Regions from separate parts of the Homo sapiens genome. Here regions 2 and 3 are each linked to region 1. The links are contacts of gene promoters, found by promoter capture Hi-C in human tissues and cell types (Jung and others, 2019). All regions are on one chromosome and are shown on one strand. The core of a region is centred on a gene start or on the middle of the fragment in contact, and the rest is flanking DNA. Distances in the headings are between cores, read along the strand shown. Region 1 holds the start of RSPH3 (radial spoke head 3). Region 2 overlaps SYTL3 (synaptotagmin like 3). Region 3 has its middle 5.8 kb from the start of TMEM181.

What was found. Contacts are between HindIII fragments. The study calls those that stand out against the background at their distance.
Region 2: a fragment that was not itself captured here is called in contact with the fragment with the promoter of RSPH3 in region 1 in 2 of the 25 tissues and cell types used here (H1 embryonic stem cells and dorsolateral prefrontal cortex).
Region 3: a fragment that was not itself captured here is called in contact with the fragment with the promoter of RSPH3 in region 1 in 1 of the 25 tissues and cell types used here (spleen).

Annotation. Positions count from the first base shown.
Region 1 is chr6:158,997,155-159,001,476 of GRCh38, reverse strand. RSPH3 (radial spoke head 3) reads left to right here and starts at 1,275. Exons shown (of 8, transcript NM_031924.8): 1 at 1,275-2,042. The coding sequence starts at 1,927. TAGAP-AS1 (TAGAP antisense RNA 1) reads right to left here and starts at 1,604. Exons shown (of 5, transcript NR_183546.1): 1 at 1,085-1,604. RefSeq lists enhancers at 967-1,016, 589-1,560, 1,427-1,586, 1,757-1,826, 1,857-1,906 and 2 more. The HindIII fragment of the contact is 9,808 bases long and covers 1-4,322 here.
Region 2 is chr6:158,688,405-158,692,242 of GRCh38, reverse strand. The region is part of intron 6 of SYTL3 (synaptotagmin like 3); the gene reads right to left. Among named protein-coding and RNA genes, the nearest start is that of SYTL3, 40 kb to the right of the region's middle. The HindIII fragment of the contact is 5,101 bases long and covers 1-3,838 here.
Region 3 is chr6:158,552,107-158,556,528 of GRCh38, reverse strand. It overlaps a transcript of TMEM181 not described here. Among named protein-coding and RNA genes, the nearest start is that of TMEM181, 5.8 kb to the left of the region's middle. The HindIII fragment of the contact is 5,216 bases long and covers 1-4,075 here.

The DNA.
Region 1 (4,322 bases), core at 26-2,525:
TTAAATCAATATGATGTAATTCTGGTCAGTTGGGAGTTTACGAGGGGGTTTTGCTCTTCCAATAAAGACAAAAGAGCAGATACTTCTATTACTACTTTGTTGAAGCCAACAACCCAGGTGACAGAGTGGAAAGGTAGGGGAAAAAACGTGTTGTTGATAATGTGCTGAGCCCCCAAGTTACCCTCCAGGTTAACCAACCTGGGGAGTGTAAAATAATGAATTCCTTATTATTTCAGCCACTTGGAATTGGTTTTTTGTTACTTGAGGGAAAAAATATTCTAATTAATATGCTAGTGTTTACTGTTTCCACGATGTGGTGTCAGCCTGTCTATATATATTTCTACAACTCATCTACACAAACCTTGCTTACAGTTTTCCAAATGCACCTTGGGCTTCTTGAGCCTTTGATCAAGCCATTCCGAATGCACTTCCCCCAAGAGGCTGGCCAGTTAAAATACTATCATTTATCAAACACAACTTAAATGTCACTTTCTCCTCTAGCCCTTTCAGAAATTACCTCAAAATTAAATGATCAGACCTAAAATATGTTGGGAGTGTTTTCACCTCTAGAATTTACCATACACCTTTATGCTAGTGTTACTTATAGAATGCCTACATCTGCTTTAGGTCATACACTTCAAAGCACAGAACGGTCCAGATCTTAATATAAAGGCTTGCCATTTACCAGGCACAGCTCTAAGTATTAACGGTTTTAATCCTCAAGACAAAACCTAAAGAGATAAATTCTTCTATTGCCACTTTGTGGATTAGGAAAATGAAGCACAAAAACATTTAACTTGCCTGAGGTTTCGGAGCTAGTACATTCTAGAACCTGGATTCAAATCAAGACAGCAATTAGCTGAATGAAGGTGTAACTGCAAATGCAAATAACTGATCACAAGGGATACACATTCACTCATACAAGATAGAAGATTTTTAACGTTGCTGGTACTAAAACCAAAGCGTCTGCGTTTTTAAGCGCAGCCCCACCCCGCAATACTAGAGACATTCTTTAGAGCTGGAAGCCTGATAGATTAAGGGGAACTATGCCTTTGTATTTTTTAAGACTCAATAAATTGCTCACTTCTTTCCCAAAATGAGGTGTCTGTGGGGGAGGCCCCTGTCGCTCCGTGTGCCAAGGGTCCTCCGATTGCTAGCACACAGCGGTGAGCAGAGAAGGTAGGTGAGGAACTGCACTGACTCAGCTGCAGAGGGCGGCGGCAGCCCGCCCCTGGGGCGGGAGAAGGGCAGGAGCCGGGAGACACCAGGAAGCTCTTCCCCGCCCGGGCACGTAACAGAGCTGGGAGCCTGGCTGCCAGGGGCGTGTTATCGCGGGGGCAGCCTGGGAGCGCTGCTGCGCCGCGGCAGGAGAAACAGCCGAGGACACCCTGGAAGAGCAGGAGCACGTGGGCCTGCGAGAATGGCGCCAACACCAGCCCTGCAAAGCCACATTCCAAAGCCGGGCCAAGGACAGCCACCGTTGCCCCGCAGGCCTCAAGGATGACGGTCAAGCCAGCCAAGGCCGCCTCCCTAGCCAGGAACCTCGCAAAGCGCAGGCGCACCTACCTGGGTGGCGCGGCTGGGCGGAGTCAAGAGCCGGAAGTCCCTTGTGCCGCAGTCCTTCCCGGGAAACCTGGGGACCGGAACTGCCCGGAGTTCCCGCCCCCAGACAGAACCCTGGGTTGCTGGGCAACCGATGCGGCCCCCGCAGCTGGTCTCTGTGGTGCTGGGAGCGAGCCCAGTATAGCTCCCACCTCCTGCGCTGGTAACCTCCCGTCCCGCCCGCCTCCCTTGTTGTCGCCTCTCCTCGCGTCGCGGAATCCTTGCCCTTGGCACTACTTACATCTCTCCGGGTCCCACAACACCTTAGCGCCCACCTGCTTCAAAGCCAAGCTCCACCGAAAGCGAGGCAGTCAGCCCCCGGACATGGCCTCAGCGCTGACTGATCGCACCTCTCGGGCCCCGAGCACCTACACCTACACCAGCCGGCCCCGAGCACTGCCCTGCCAGCGCAGCCGTTACCGGGACAGCCTGACGCAGCCGTGAGTGACCAAGCCAGCCCCTGTGTGGTCCATACTTGCACCCCATCCCCAGGCCGGGGTCTGGCCCCTTCGCCCTGGCAAAAAAGCTGCTTATGCTGTCTTCCCTTGGCTGCACTCTGCCGAAATAAAAGTTCTGCCCTAAGGAATCTCCCGTGGTGTGGAGGAGTGAAGCAGGAAGGGGCATGGGTTGGGCATCAGTTAACTTTTAGTGATATGAGTTGCTGCCGTGGTCCTTAACATGTACACGAATTGGCTCATTTCACAAAGTTTGAATTGTACCAGTGTGTATTGAGGGCCAACTACGTGCTGAGCACCTTACGGGGGGCATTCAAATACGTTTTCTTAGTTAATCCACAGTGCTGTGAAGTTGATTTTATAACTCCATTATGCAGATGAGGAGACCGCGGTGCAAAGATATCCAACAGTAGCATATCCAAAATGGGAGCCGAGTAAATCTCTTCGGCAGGCTTTGAGCAGGAGTAAGATTATTCTTCCATGCAGGACCACAGATTGGTTTTTTGTGGTGGTGGTGGTGGTGGTGGTGGTGGTTGCTGTTGTTGTTTTGAGACGGAGTTTCGCTCTTGTCGCCCAGGCTGGACTGCAATGACGCGATCTCCGCTCACTGCAACCTCCGCCCCCCTCCCCCACTCCTCCCCGATCAAACGATTCTCCTGCCTCAGCCTCCCAAGTAGCTGGGACTAGAGGCGCCCTCCACCACCCCCGGCTAATCTTTGTATTTTTAGTAGAGACAGGGTTTTGCCACGTTGGCCAGGCTGGTCTCAAACTCTTGGCCTCAAGTGATCCGCCCGCCTCGGCCTCCCAAAGTGCTGGGATTACAAGCGTGAGCCACCGCGCCCGGACGGCAGTTTGTGTTTTTACATCCATGAACAGTTGCAAATATTCAAACATACATAGGAAAGAAAAAAAACAAAACATAAGCCTTTTTTTTTTTCTTTTTTTTTTTTTGAGACGGAGTCTCGCTCTGTCGCCCAGGCTGGAGTGCAGTGGCACAATCTCGGCTCACTGCAACCTCCACCTCCCGGGTTCACGCCATTCTCCTGCCTCAGCCTCCCAAGTAGCTGGGACTACAGGCGCCCGCCACCACGCCCGGCTCTTTTTTTTTTTTTTTTTTTTTTTGTATTTTTTTAGTAGAGACGGGGTTTCACCATGTTAGCCAGGATACTCTCGATCTCCTGACCTCATGATCCGCCCGCCTCGGCCTCCCAAAATGCTGGGATTACAGGCCTGAGCCACCACACCCAGCAAAAAAAACATAAACTCTTAAAGTTCTCTTAAAGTTAAACGGTTCTCTAAAGTTCTTTCCATAAGCCTCAAATGTTGAATTCAGCAGAACTTTATAGGAATGCAAGCTCCATGGATGCAGGAACTTTTGCATCTTTTGTTCACCTAGTACAATGCCTGGTACATAGTAAGCACTTAATACGAATTGTCAAACTGATGATTGAACATCAACAATGTAATTATTGATGCTTATTTCAAACGCTCTTTCTAAATTCATAATTATCTTGTTCTAACAAATTCTTTTTCTATAAGAGATGTCTATCACTGTAAGAAAACTAAAATAGAAAATTTAAATTTGAAGAGTGATCATTTATATTAGAAAAGGATTCAATTTTAAAATTTTCTAATCCTTCCAAAAACACTTTCTGGTGCCTTTAAGTGGTTGCTTACAAATCATTACTATCCAATCAGACCAACAGATTAGAAACAAGAATCAATGGTGGTTCATTAGGAACAACTTTTTTGATAGTTGATTAGTATATTGAAGTAATCTATTGATTAGTTTATTAGTATATCTGAGTAATGCACAAGACAGAAAAATCTCAATTTTGAGGAAGTATTATCTTACAAATCATAATCATTGATATCCTAATGGATAAAATACTGATATTTTATCCATAATTTGCTTATGGATAAGGATAATATTCTCCTCTGATATCCTTATGAATAAAATATTTTTTAAGTGTTCAGGAGAGTAGCCGGGCATGGTGGCATGTACCTGTAATCCCAGGTACTTGGGAGGCTGACGCAGGAGGATCACTTAAACCCAGAAGGCGGAGGTTGCAGTGAGCCAAGATCACGCCACTGCACTCCAGCCTGGGCGACAAAGCGAAACTCTGTCTCAAAAAAAAAAAAAAAAAAGTGTTCAGGAGAGTACTTGTCTTAATCCATCTTATGTTGCTCTAACAGAGTATCTGAAACTGGATAGTCTATAAAGAGATCTATTTAGCTCACAGCTCTGCAGACTGAGAAGTACAA
Region 2 (3,838 bases), core at 1,185-3,684, 310 kb after region 1:
TCTGTCGCCCAGGCTGGAGTGCAGTGGCACAATCTGGGCTCACTGCAAGCTCCAGTTCCCAAGTTCCCACCATTCTCCTGCCTCAGCCTCCCAAGTAGCTGGGACTACAGGCGCCCGCCACCACGCCCGGCTAATTTTTGTGTATTTTTAGTAGAGACGGGGTTTCACCGTGTTAGCCAGGATGGTCTCGATCTCCTGACCTCGTGATCCGCCCGCCTCGGCCTCCCAAAGTGCTGGAATTACAGGCATTAAGAAATTACAACTATTTCTTAACTTAAGAAAGTTTAATATTGGCCGGGCGCGGTGGCTCACGCCTGTAATCCCAGCACTTTGGGAGGCCGAGGCGGGCCGATCACGAGGTCAGGAGATCGTGACCATCTTGGCTAACACGGTGAAACCCCGTCTCTACTAAAAATACAAAAAATTAGCCAGGCGTGGTGACAGGTGCCCGTAGTCCCAGCTACTCAGGAGGCTGAGGCAGGAGAATGGCGTGAACCCGGGAGGCGGAGCTTGCAGAGAGCCGAGATCACATCACTGCACTCCAGCCTGGGCGACAGAGCGAGACTCCGTCTCAAAAAAGAAAAAAAAAAGTTTAATATTAATATTGTCATCTTTCTGCTTTTAAGCTTGTACATCAAGTAACAGAATGTCATGGTTGTTAAAAAAAAGAAAAAAAGTAAAAGAGGTGCATTTACAGGGAGGAGCCAGAAGAGGGCATCATTTCTATACGCTTAGCAGATGCCAAAAGAGGAGAGATGAATTTTCAGCTTGTTTTCTAGTTATTAGTGATCTAAAAAAGTTCTATCATAATTGTTTACTAATTTTGTTACTTTACTTAAAGTACATTAAAAAAGTTACTTGGGGAACTGTTAAACAGTCACTTTTTTTTTTTTCTTTTGAGATGGAGTCTCAGTTGCTGCCCAGGCTGGATGCAGTGGCATGATCTTGGCTCACTGCAACCTCCGCCTCCCAGGTTCAAGCGATTCTCCTGCCTCAACCCCCCGAGCAGCTGGGATTACAAGCGTGTGTCACCATGTCCAGCTAATTTTTGTATTTTTATTAGAGACAGCGTTTCACCATGTTGACCAGGCTGGCCTCAAACTCCTGGCCTCAAACGATCCTCCCACCTCATCCTCCCAAAGTGCTGGGATTACAGGCATGAGCCACCGCCCTTAGCCAAACATTCACTCTTGAACCCCATCTGGCCCCACCAAATTAGAACCTGTGTGTGTGAGGCCAGGAAGGTTGAATTTGAATCAGTTTGCAGCTGATCCTGGAGCGTGGGTCCAGGAACCACATTAAAAACCCTCTGCACGGATTGCCAAATGCCCGTGGATGGAGGCACAGAAGGTGATGATGCCAGGTTGTCCTGGGGAGCTTCCTAAAGGCAAGAGAGCCTATGAAGGTCTGGGTGCTTTGATAATTCGAATGTACTACAGATGAACCACCACGGTGGCATCAAAGAAATTATTTTAAGACCACAAAACTAAATATCCAGTTATGAAATTTTAGGGGAAAAAGCCAGCCTATAATCAGAAAAATTTTTAAATAAATCAAAATATTTAAAATTTTTTGTACTATCGCTCTACAAAATGAAGAACTGAGGCTCATTTTTTCTTGTTTTTAAATTGTTTTAATAGTTGAAAAAATAGCACAACACATATTACCACAATTTATTATTCTTCACTAGATTCTTATAGCATGTCTACTTCCAAGGAAATCTGGGGGGCATTTTATCTTAAATTGCACATATCCAATAAGATCATCAAAAGAGAAATAAGTAAAAGCTAATAAAAAGGAAACTGGGTGCAGAGGGTGTAATGATTCCTGGAATTACTGCAACTGAATGTTACATTTAGCTTTAGGTTTCCCCGTGTCAAAAAGGGAAGGATGTCTACATTTGTAAGGTGCCTACTCAGTGCTGGGCACTGACAATGGACACTACTCCCTCTAACAGCACTTTTTGTGGCCAAATGAGCAGATCCCTGCTCAATTTATTTATTCACTTATTCCTTTACTCATAGCTCCTGCTCTCAAACATTCAAAATCTGGCTAGGGCCAAATTGCCAAGAGTTGCAGGTGAAGGAGAGGGCACCGTGTGTCCTCTATGAGACAGCACCCGCTGGAGCGCAGGGCTGGGCACAAGGAGAGTGGTGCCCCACGCTGTGCCAATCAGTGGCCCTGGGTTACAACGCAATGGGAAAGGGAATGGTTATGTAACAAATGGTACCAGGAACATCAAGGATTGGGAGGAAAAAAAATTAGATAGGGCCTCCTGATGATTGTAAAGAGTTAACATGGTGGCTCAGGCCTATAATCCCAGCACTTTGGGAGGCCAAGGCAGGCGAATCACTTGAGGCCAGGAGTTCAAGACCAGGCTGGCCAACATAATGAAACCCCGTCTCTACTAAAAATACAAAAATCAGCTGAGCATGGTGACATGTGCCTATAATCCCAGCTACTTGGGAGGCTGAGGCAGAAGAATCGCTTGAACCTAGGCGGTGGAGGTTGCAGTGAACCAAGATTGCGCCATGGTACTCCAGCCTGGGTGACAGAGTGAGACTCTGTCTCAAGGGGAAAAAAAAAAAAAAGTTAAGTAAAAATTAGAAGAAAATTAATGTGGATATTTAACCTATCACAGGATAAGGAAGAAGTCTCGAAGCATAAAAGCAAAAGAAATTATACGGGAAAAGGAGATTTGCCTACAAGCAAACAAAAAACTTCTTTGTGTTAAAAACAAAATTATAAAGAAGGCCATGTACTAGGAAGATAACATGCAACTAACATGATTGAAAAGGACTAATCGCCTTCACATACCAAGAACATCTACAGAAGGTTGAAAAGTGGAAGATACTCAATCTTATTCGTGATGAGATGAATTCAAATCAAAACGATGAGAAAACCATTTTGCATGACCAATGTTGTTTTGCCAAACTGATAAAGTTATCTATTGGTTTGCATGTTGGTTTATTTTTAAGGATAATTCCACACCCTTTCTAAAGGAGGCAACATTCCTAACCTTCATCTTGTTCTCTTTCTAGAAATATTCAGAGATGTGCCAAAAAGATATCTACAAGGATATTCTTTGCATTATTCTCATTTTAATAACCTTATAAACTTTCAAAAATGCAACAGAAAGCTGGAAATCCCCTAACTATCCAACAATAGTTATTTGGTTAAACAAATGATGACACATTCCTATGACGGGGTGAGATACACTCATCAGAAATCATATAGCCAATGATATTTATGGACACTGAAAATGTTCCTTATAAATTACTACATGAAGAAACATTAGGATAAAACTGTACATACAATTTGATTTCAATTATGTAAATATATTAGCCTGACTCATGTGAAATTGCCTCTATTCAATAATTTTTTGCCTAAAAATACCAATTTCTTATGGTTCAACCTAAATACTTCAAAAAAGTCTATGTATATGTGTGTATACACACACATATATCCACACATACAGATATGCACCCACAAGCATAGATACATACACTCACAAAAGAACAGAAATAATATATACTAAAATGTCAACAATTGTTCTCTGGGTGAAGCTGCTGTATTTTTAACATTGCTCTTTATGATTTTCTTCATTTTCTAGGTTTTAATTTTTTAATTTCATTTAATTTTTTTAGAGACAGGATCTCACTATGCTGCCCAGGCTAGTCTTGAACTCCTGGGCTCAAGCGATCCTCCTGCTTTGACCTCCCAAAATGCTGGGATTACAGGCATGAGCCACTGAGCCTGGCGTCTAGTTTTTTACGTGAATGTAATTTGAAATCATGCTTCAAAGCTCAGAATGTAATGGGGGCCAGAGTGTGGGAAG
Region 3 (4,422 bases), core at 218-2,717, 450 kb after region 1:
TCCTCCCCATTGTTCCTTTAAAAACCTTCATCTTTCTATACCTCCCTGAAAAGGCACATAGTTCACTATGGCACATATATTCCCATTGCAATGCCCTATTCCTGGATAAATATCATTTCTTTTAGAGAGCCTCTTTGTTTGTTATTTAGGTTGACGCAAATGTGTCAGAAATGGAATCGGGAAAAGGATCACTACGGGAAGGAAGTGATGATTCTTAGAACGGGTGTGTGGTACTCACTTGAGCCCTCTGAACTCTGCTGGCACAGCTTGCCTTTTTGGCCAAGGCGACTCTTCTCTCAGGCCCACGCTCCCTCTTTTTGGTAGCAGCTTTTTCATATTATTCTGGATTCGTTTTGGTTATAAGGCTGCCTTACATCCCTACTGGGATGATAAAAGACTTTTTTGTCTTTTCTGAAAAGTCCTTGTTGGTAGAAAGACATGCTGGTTTGAGTACTCTGGTTTCTGCAGAATTGACATTCTGTCTCTGAGACGTGTCTTTTCTGGTTAATTTACTTTTGCTTCTTTCTGCATGTCTAATTTAATATTTTGTTTGATCTGCATGCTGAGTTAAAGCTTGTGACTACACTGATTTTGGTTTAGTTATGTGTCTATAAATGATTCGTCTTTTTTCCCTTGCTTGTTTCTGAAAAATCTTCCAAGAGAAAAACATTCTAAACGGTGGGCGCACGATGGCTAGTTAAAAGCCGCCATCTAAACATTGTCCAAACTCCTGACATTCGCTGACAGAATTTATAGGGTTTCCTTTGCTCCTGAGAGATTAATAAAAAGCAGAATGGGATTCTCAAGTCAAGTCAATGGGATTCTCTCAAGTCTTCTGGGACTCCAGCTAGCTGTATATTATGGCTTCTTTTCACGCACATTTTTAAGCTAATAGACAAATTACATCATGAAACATTCAGAACTCAAATGATCATTATCTGAATTCTCTAAAAACACCTCTGAAACTATACAGTTAGCATGTAGAGTCTTCTAAATTCTCTATCTCTATTTTTTTCTGCTTACTTTAAATCTGCTGACTTTTCTACTGGAGTTGAGATAAAACTCACTGCTTATGGCATTCCAGCCAAGATTTTTTAAACCAAAACCAACAACCTAGGCCTAAGGATCATCTCTTTTAAGGTTAATTTAGTTTTGCCTGACTAATAATTGTTTGGGGTAATGGAAGTTAGTTGAAGGATTGATAAAGAAAAAATTAGATAAATCTTCATAAAAGGCTCACAGATCAAACAAGTCAAAATCTTGAGCTCAGAGCAATAATATAAGGTGTCTCTGTCTGGCATAAAATTGCTTTTTCTGCCACACAGGGGCCAAAAAGAAAAAGCCAAACAAACACAGGAAGGAAACCCTGCTAACATTCTTCCCTGTTCACATTAACCAAGCAAACCAGATGGGCAAACAAAAGATACATTTGTTACTAGTTCAAGGCTCTTTGGAGAGTTTGTTTTCCTTATATAATTCAGCCAGTCCTAGCTAAAATGTAAACATTGAAAATGTAACCCTAAACTCATTTAAAGCTGAAAAAAGCAAAAGAGTGGGAGTAAAAGAGATTTTTAAAAACCAAACTGCTTTGTCCAAAATCTTCGCCCACCATCTTCATTAGATTACCTATCGGGGCAAATAAAGTTCAGACATGTGAACAGGTTTCAACTTTGTCAATAATACAATTTGGATCCAGCTGTGTTTTATTATCTTTTACTGTCTCATGACTAACATTCTAAAATGAAAGCTGTAAGATATTTCTGTGTGTGGATATTTGTTTCGGTGCATTTACACATGTACGTGTATTATGTTTTATGTTGTGTCTTCATGGTAAGATCTAGCATGGACCCTTAAATTCTATTCAGATTGGTTTAAATGAGCTTTCATATAAAATATAGTAAGTCCTGACTTAATGTTGTGAATAGGTTGTTGGAAACTGTGACTTTGAGCAAAACAATGTATAATGAAGCCAATTTTTTTCCTCATCAATGTTAAAATGAAACAGCATTGGCCAGGCGAAGTGGCTCACGCCTATAATCCTAGCACTTTGGGAGGCTGAGGCAGGTGGATCACCTGCGGTCAGGAGTTCGAGACCAGCCTGGCCAACATGGCAAAATCCCATCTCTACTAAAACTACAAAAATGGCCAGGCGCGGTGGCTCACGCCTGTAATCCCAGCACTTTGGGAGGCCAAGGTGAGCGGACTGCCTGAGGTCAAGAGTTCGAGATCAGCCTGACCGACATGGTGAAACCTCGTCTCTACTAAAAATACAAAAATTAGCCGGGCGTGGTGGCAGGCGCCTGTAATCCCAGCTGCTCGGGAGGCTGAGGCAGGAGAATCACTTGAACCTGGGAGGTGGAGGTTGCAGTGAGCCAAGACCGGGCCATTGTACTCCAGCCTGGGCAACAAAAGCGAAACTCCATCTCAAAAAATAAAATAAAATAAAATAAAAAAATTAGCCAGGCGTGGTGGCTGGCACCTGTAATCCCAGCTACTCGGGAGGATGAGGCAGGAGAATCACTTTAACCCGGGAGGTGGGGGTTCTGGCGAGCTGAGATGGTGCCATTACGCTCCAGCCTGGGCAACAGAGCAAAACTCCGTCTCAAAAAAAAAATAAAAATAATGAAACAGCATTGAACAAAGTGACATCATTTGAGGACCTGTTGGACGTTGTTTCACCCAGTCACAGTTTCCAAGAACCTACTAATGACATTAAGTGCCAACTTGCTCTCTATATTAATTAACCCGAATGCGTTTTAGTTCATGTGACTTAAGAATGTCTTTAATAAATAAACTAGCTTTTAAATTGTTGAAAAAAATAAAAATGTCTGCACAATTGCCAACATATTAATATACTGTTGCATGGGTTTTGTGGCAGACAGTTTTATATTGGTCTTCATTAGATGTTTTAAGGTATTAGGGTTTAGCACAAAGATTATAAAACTATAAACACAGCCTAAAATAAAATGATTTTTTGTACAACTCTTTGATAAGTAAGACTAATTTAATATTGTTGGTTTAATAAAAATAGCTGTATCTTCTGAGTTATTGACAAAATAACCATATATTTAAGGTTCTTAGGTGAACACCTGATATGCACAGGCTATAAAAATGGTTAACAGAGAAATAACTGATGACTAGCTTTGTCTAATATCTCAGTTTTAATAAGTAATCTAGGTATAATTGTTAAAAATAAATAAATTTTGTAAATGTAAATGGTATATGTGTTTATAAATAAGCTTTTTATGTAATTTAAAATCTTAAAGTTTTATGGTATGTTAAATTAAACAACAGATATTCATTAAATGTCTGGTTCATTTCCCAATTTTTTTTTTTTTCGGAGACAGGGACCCCTCTCTGTCGCCCAGGCTGGAGTGCAATGGCACAATCACAACTCATAGCAGCTTCGACCTCTCAGGCTCAAACAATCCTCCTGCCTCAGCCACCCATGTAACTGGAACCACAGGCACACACCACCACACCCGGCTAATTTTTTAATTGTTTTGCAGGACTGGGGTCTCACCATGTTGCCCAGGCTGGTCTCAAACTAGGCTCAAGTGATCCTCCCGCATCAGCCTCCGAAAGTGCTGGGATGACAGGCATGAGCCCCTGTGCCTGGCTGACAGTTTCTATTTCTGCCACATTTTTTCCTGAAAGCCACTTAATTTCTCTAGTTTCAAGACAGAAATGTTTTTTCATTCCGAATGGTAATTTCACTTCTTGAGGTAGAGTTTTCATTTTAAAGCTTCTCAGGTTCATCTCTCAGAAGCTCAACTTTGTTTCCATCTCACAGCCCATGACTGGCAGGTCACACATAACTGCCTACAGCTCTTTCTTCCCTGATAAGGCTGAGACGATAACTCTCTCCTTCAACCTTTTTATCAGCTCCTGTAACTTTTCCCTTCAGTTCTAACTCTGCTCTTATGGCCCAATGCTAAAATGTTTATCTTGAAGACCTGAAGCAGCAATCTTTTCCTCCAGTGTAACTTGATTCTGTACTCTTGGCTTTTCTTGATGTGTCTGAATTGTTCTATGTAACAAGGAAACTTCACAGGCTCTCACGTTCTCTAAGATCCATGTATTCCTCGCTCAATGTATTAGTTTTCTTGTGTATATTCCTCTGTGATATAGTGTATACTCAAAATCTTGAACACATTCTTCCTGCTTCTGATTAAATGTAAGTACCTTTCATCAGGTTCAACTTCCAAGATATCTAAGTGGGCTTCCCATAAGGAAAAGCAATCACACTGCAGGAGGTGCAATCACACTGCAGGAGGTTTTTCTTCACCTTTTGGTAACTGGCCTAAAAAAAACAAAGGATTTATATTTTATTAGGATAACTTCCTGTGTTATCTCAATTCGATTTTTGATTACTCAGGAAAACTGAACTTTAAAAGGGTTAAGCTTTTTAAATTTCGCATG